Linked DNA regions of Homo sapiens: region 1 is linked to region 2. The links are contacts of gene promoters, found by promoter capture Hi-C in human tissues and cell types (Jung and others, 2019). All regions are on one chromosome and are shown on one strand. The core of a region is centred on a gene start or on the middle of the fragment in contact, and the rest is flanking DNA. Distances in the headings are between cores, read along the strand shown. Region 1 overlaps PDCL2 (phosducin like 2). Region 2 holds the start of EXOC1 (exocyst complex component 1).

Region 1 (2,929 bases), core at 158-2,657, 280 kb before region 2:
GTGCAACCATCACCACTACCTAATTCAAAAACATTTTCATCACTCCACAATAAACCCATATCTATTTGTAGTTACTCCCTATCCCCTATCCTAGGCCCTGGTAACCAATAATTGTGTTCTGTCTCTATGACTTTTTGTACTGGTTTCTTTCCCCTAGCATGTTTTCATCCATGTTGTAGAACATATTGGTACTTCATTTCATTTGAATTATGGCTGAATAGTATTCCACTGTATAGACTGATGACATTTAGATTGTTTCCATTTTGAGGTTATTGTGAATAATGTTGCTATGGCCATTCCTATACATGTTTTGAATTTTCTTGGGTATATACCTAGAAGTGGAATTGCTGGGTCATATGCTAACTTTATATTTAACCTTTTGAGGATCCACCAGACTGTTTTTCAAAGTGGCTGTACCATTTACATTCCCAGTGGCAATTCAAAGGGTTCCAATCCTCACCAATTTATTTATTATAACCACCTTAGTGTGTTTGAAGTAGTCTCCCAATGTGGGGTCTTCCCTAACTCCAATAGTTAGTGTCAGAATTGAAATGAATTGTAGAACACCCAGTTGGTGTCCAGAAAGTTGGAGAATTGGTTGTGGGGGACCCTGCCCCAACATTTCATGTCAGAAGTGGTATGAGTAAAACATACCAGAGGAACTAAAAAGTACAGTAACTAAAATTAAAAAAATACATTGGAGAGTTCCAAAAGCAGATTTGAGGAAGCAGAAGAATCAGCAACCTTGAAAATAGGACAACTGCAATGATCAAATCTGAGAAAAAAAAAAGAATGAAAAAAAAATAAACAGGGCCTAAAGGGTCTGTGGGATGATATAAAGCAGACCAACACACATGTTGTGTGAATCTCAACAGAAAAGAGAGAGAAAAGAAGCATAAAGGATATTTTAAGAAATAATGGCTGAAAACTTCCCAAATTTGATGAAATACATTAATCTATAAACTCAAGTGTCCAACAAACTCCAAGTATGATAAAAGTATGATAAACTCAAAGACACCCACATGGGGATACATCATAAACTACTGAAAGGCAAGAAGAGACAATGAGAATCTTGAAAGCAGAGAGAAGCAAGTCATCACATACAAGGGATCTTCAATAAGACTATCAGCCAGTTTCTCAGCAGAAATTTTGGAAGCCAAAAAGGCAGTGAGTTGATATTTTTTAAATGCTGAGAGAAAACAACTGTCAAAAGCAAGAATTCGATATTTGGCAAAACTATGCTTCAAGAATGAGGGTAAATTAATGCATTCCTAGATTTAAAAAATAAAAATAAAAACAAAAAAACACCAAGGGACCTAGACCTGCCTAAAAAATATGTGAAAGGAGTCCTTCAGGCTGAAATGAAAGAGCACCAGATAGTATCCAAAGCCACATGAAGAAACGAGGAACATGGTGAAGTTAACTACATAGGGAAATATAATAGCCAGTATTACCATTTGGCTTTTACATAGGAAAATGTAAAAGCCATTATTGGAATTGGTTTCTTTTTTTTTTCTTTTTGAGACAGTCTTGCTTTGTTGCCTAGGCTGGAGTGCCGTGGCGCGATCTTAGCTTACTGCAACCTCTGCCTCCCAGGTTCAAGCAATTCTCACACCTAGCCTCCTGAGTAGCTGGGATTACAGGGGTGTGCCACCATGCCCAGCTAAATTTTTTGTATTTTTATTAGAGACGGGGTTTCACCATGTTGGCCAGGCTGGTCTCAAACTCCTGAACTCAGGCGATTTGCCCACCTCTGCCTCCCAAAGCACTGGGATTACAGGCGTAAGCCATCATGCCTGGCCTAGAGTTGGTTTCTAACTTCTCTTTTTTTCCTGTATGATATAAAAGGTAAATACATAAAGCAATAATAATAATCTATGTTAATGGATGCACAATATATAACAATGTAGTCTGTGACACTAACAAATAAGGAGAAGGATGGAGATGTGTTTACATGCTATTGACTCTAAGTTGGTATTATTCAAAGTAGGCCACTGTAAGACGTTAATTTTTATCCTTAAGATAATCACTATGAAAAAACTAAAAGATACACAGAAAATGAAAGAAGAAGGAAATAAAAATGGTACACTAGAAAAATCAGCTAACTGTGAAAAGAAAGCAGTAATGGAAGACTTAAAAAACAAAAATTATGTAAGAAATACAGAAAACACCTAAGTAGCAGAAGCAACTCCTTTCTTAACAGTACTTACTTTAAATGTAAGTGAATTTTAAATTAATATGATTAATCTCCAACTAAAGGCAAAGACTGGCAAAACAAATTTTAAAAAAAGCATGTTCCAGATTTCTCAGTCCTTTTTTTTTTTTGAGACGGAGTCTTGCTCTGTCGCCCAGGCTGGAGTGCAGTGGCACAATCTCGGCTCACTGCAACCTCTGCCTCCCAGATTCAAGCAATTCTCCTGCCTCAGCCTCCCGAGTAGGTGGGATTACAGGTACAGGCCACTACACCCAACTAATTTTTGTATTTTAGTAGAAACAGGGTTTCACCATGTTGGCCAGGCTGGTTCGAACTCCTGACTCAGGTGATCCGCCTGCCTTGGTCTCCCAAAGTGCTGGGATTACAGGCATGGGCCACTGTGCCTGGCCTTCTCAGGCCTCTTTTATAAGAGCATTAATCCCGTTCATAAAGGGGTAGCCCTCATGACCTAATTACCTCCCTAAGGCTCCACCTCTTAATGCCATCACATTGGGAGGGGATTAGGTTTCAACATATGAATTTGGGGGGGACACAAACATTCAGACCACAGCACCATCATTTAGTGGTTTTTATGGAGGTTTCATTAGATAGGCATGATTGACTAAATCGTTGGCCACTGGTGATTAACTCAATCTCTAGCCCCTCTCCCCTCTCCAGAGAGCAGGGAATAGTGTTAAAAGTTCTAACCTTCTAATCACATGGTTGGTTCCTCTG
Region 2 (2,959 bases), core at 80-2,579:
AAATATGGTGATGACCAACTCAGTAACACATTCTTATACTGCATCTCCCTTTTTGTTTTGTCTTCTTCCTCTTCCCTCATTTTGCTCCCTGGGATCAAATTTCCAAATAAACTATTGCATATAAGTGTCACTTTGCAGGGAATCCAAGAGGAGAGAGGATAATTTAATTTTTGGACACACAAGTTTGAGGTGTCTATAAGACATCCAAGTGGAAATGTCAGGCGATGGGCAGTATATACACAAATCTTGAGGTTCAAGAAAGAGATCTAGGCTTCTGAAATGCAATTCATTTCCCAACTTTGAGGAGGGCTATAAACATACAGGTAAATAAAAGAAAGATAATAGGACCAAAAAACACATGCAATTGTCATAGAGTGTCCACAGTAAGCATTCCGGTGCCAAGCAGGAAAGGGTCTTTGTAAAGATATAACCAGATCCTGCTCTTAAAAGGGAAGTCATTTGATGAAAGTGAAAAGTATTCTAACTACTGTTTGCTCATTTAAATTTCTAGCACATTTATCTGATCTGTACCTCTCTTTGGTCACTTATTTTGTGTCCTATTTTATATATATTTGTACCTACACCTTGTCTAGTCCTACCACACTGTGAACTCCTTTAGGTTAAGATTCATGCCTGAATCACCTCTGTACCTGGAATCAAAGTGCCTAGCATTAAAAAAAAAAGGTGCCAGGAATATTGAATAAATAAAACACCTACCTGCAACCAGCAACATTGGCATCATTTATGCATCCCAAACTTAAATATGCATAAGCATCATCTTGCTAAGATGCAGATTCTGATTCAGTAGATCTGAAGTGAGCCAGAGAGGCTGCATTTCCTAAAAAGCCCCCAGATGATACCCAAGCAGCTGATCCACGGACCACACTTTGAGTATCAAGGTCATGAGGACAATGGTTCTTGACCTTAGCTGCATATGAGAATCATCTGGGAAGATATTAAAAGTACTGATGTCTGGGTCCCACCCGCAGGGATTCTGATTTAACTCATTTAAGCTCTCCAAAGTTTAAGTAGCAAAGATCTAGAGTTAATAGAGCTTTACGTATGAAAAAAGAAAACATTTAATCGAATTTCTTCTTAAATGAATTGCTGCAAATATCTGAATAAATAACTCTTAATCCCCAACTCCCAAGTCAGTTTCTGTGCCACAAAGGCCCCGCCCCTGCCCTTCCCTGACACGCCCCTCCAATGAGGCCTTGTTCCGCCTGGCCACGCCCGTCGGTTGGCGCCCCGCCCCTCCGCGTCTATTGGCCGCTCCCTTTTTCTCCCATCGCTGCTTCTTCCTTCTCTACGCGGTCAACTTCCGGCGCGGAGTTTGTCACGTGCCCGGATATAGGAAGTGTTGGGGGAACGGCCGCTTCCCGTTCAACGCTTTATTGAGGGGCGTATCCTAGTGGCCCCCATCCGGTCTCCGTTTTGGAAGACCCGCCTCGGCACAGCCAGGCTCAGTCCGGCCTTGCGGTAAGCCTTCGGCCGCGGCTGCCCGGTAGTCCCGGCGGCGGCGGACAGACGAGCTGACAGGCACCAGGGTCTAAGGCGGCTCCTCAGTCCGGCTGCTGTCTCCACGCCTGGGGTCGGGCACCGCTCCTTCTGACCTTCCTTTCCCCGTTTGTCCCGGTAAGACGAAGTTTGGTCAGAGCATTCTCCAGTCCCTTGTCCTCGGGTCTAGGAGAATGCGGAGCTGGGAGGGCAGTCCTCACGGGCCCCATTACGGTTCCGCCCATCGGAACCAGATTTTGTTTGTGCAAAATGACCCTGATCGTAAGCTCTTTGGCGTGGTCCAGGAGAGGAGAGCGTGACTGTGCCTTCCTCTTTGTCCAAATTCACATCCCGGCCCCCCAACCCCAACTCCCCCCCACCCCCCGCCAAATCTCTTAAGTGTATTTCTCTATTTCCTTGCACAGTTATATCTTCTAGATGGCAATGCTTCATGCATTAATATATCTCAGCAGCATACAGGGCCCAATGCACACGGGCACTCACACTGACAGGCTATTTGTCACACAGTGTGGTGGTCCAACTGAGCTGAAGGAAACAACCAGTACAGAGTAAGCAGTGGATGGCTGCCTTTGGAACGTGGTCAGATATGGGTTCTCAGACCTGGAGAATAATTTTAGAGGACCTCTAGGGATTTATTTACTGACTTTCAGAAAAGTACCGTAAAGACTGAAGAGTTAATCACTCGACTCTTAGGATGTAAATGCCATAGAAACACCCGGCTTCAGGTCTTCATAAACATATCTGTCATGTTGACTACTGTAACCTAGAATAGTGTCTGCCACCTAATAAGCATGAGTATTTGCTGAATGAATGAAGAGTCACATACTGCTTTTCATTATGGCTAACTCCTTTATGAGGTATGCCCAATCCTGTCTTGTTTTGCCTCTTACTGTACACTCAGTTGCTTTTAGCCAGAGAAGGAGTATGTGGTAAACGTTGGTCCCTATTATTCATTTGACCAGTTTTTACTATTCAGTTCTAATTACCTTAATAGATATTTAAGTATCCACTAAACACAAAACTATGATGAACATCCCTCCCTTCTTTAAGAGAATTCTTGAGATAGAGAAGCTTATGATTTAATGAGCCCATTAGACGGCAAATGCAGTAAGTGCTGTAGAAATTTAGAGGAGAGATCACTTTGGATTAAGATCTTCATTGAATCAACTTCATGTAAACCATGAAGTGTAATTAGGGTTTGGATAGGGCGGAGATGATATTCCTTACATGGAAAGTACCAAAGTGAAGATTTGATGTCCAAAATGAACAGAGTGTTTGGAGTGGAATGTTTTTGAGAACATTAGGAAAACGTTGAGTAAAAGCGTGATGTGATACAAACTGTCTTTTAAAATTATCTTGTTGTTCAGGGTTGTGGGACCTTGCAAAGAGAACCAGATTTTGTAGGGTTAAGTAAAGTTGATATGAACCTGGGTCAGTATAT

Evidence for each region. Contacts are between HindIII fragments. The study calls those that stand out against the background at their distance.
Region 1: a fragment that was not itself captured here is called in contact with the fragment with the promoter of EXOC1 in region 2 in 1 of the 25 tissues and cell types used here (mesenchymal stem cells).

Annotation. Positions count from the first base shown.
Region 1 is chr4:55,574,591-55,577,519 of GRCh38, forward strand. All of the region lies in intron 3 of PDCL2 (phosducin like 2), which reads right to left. Among named protein-coding and RNA genes, the nearest start is that of PDCL2, 16 kb to the right of the region's middle. The HindIII fragment of the contact is 9,457 bases long and covers 1-2,929 here.
Region 2 is chr4:55,852,319-55,855,277 of GRCh38, forward strand. EXOC1 (exocyst complex component 1) reads left to right here and starts at 1,330. Exons shown (of 19, transcript NM_001024924.2): 1 at 1,330-1,635. RefSeq lists a silencer at 1,122-1,221. The HindIII fragment of the contact is 5,967 bases long and covers 1-2,959 here.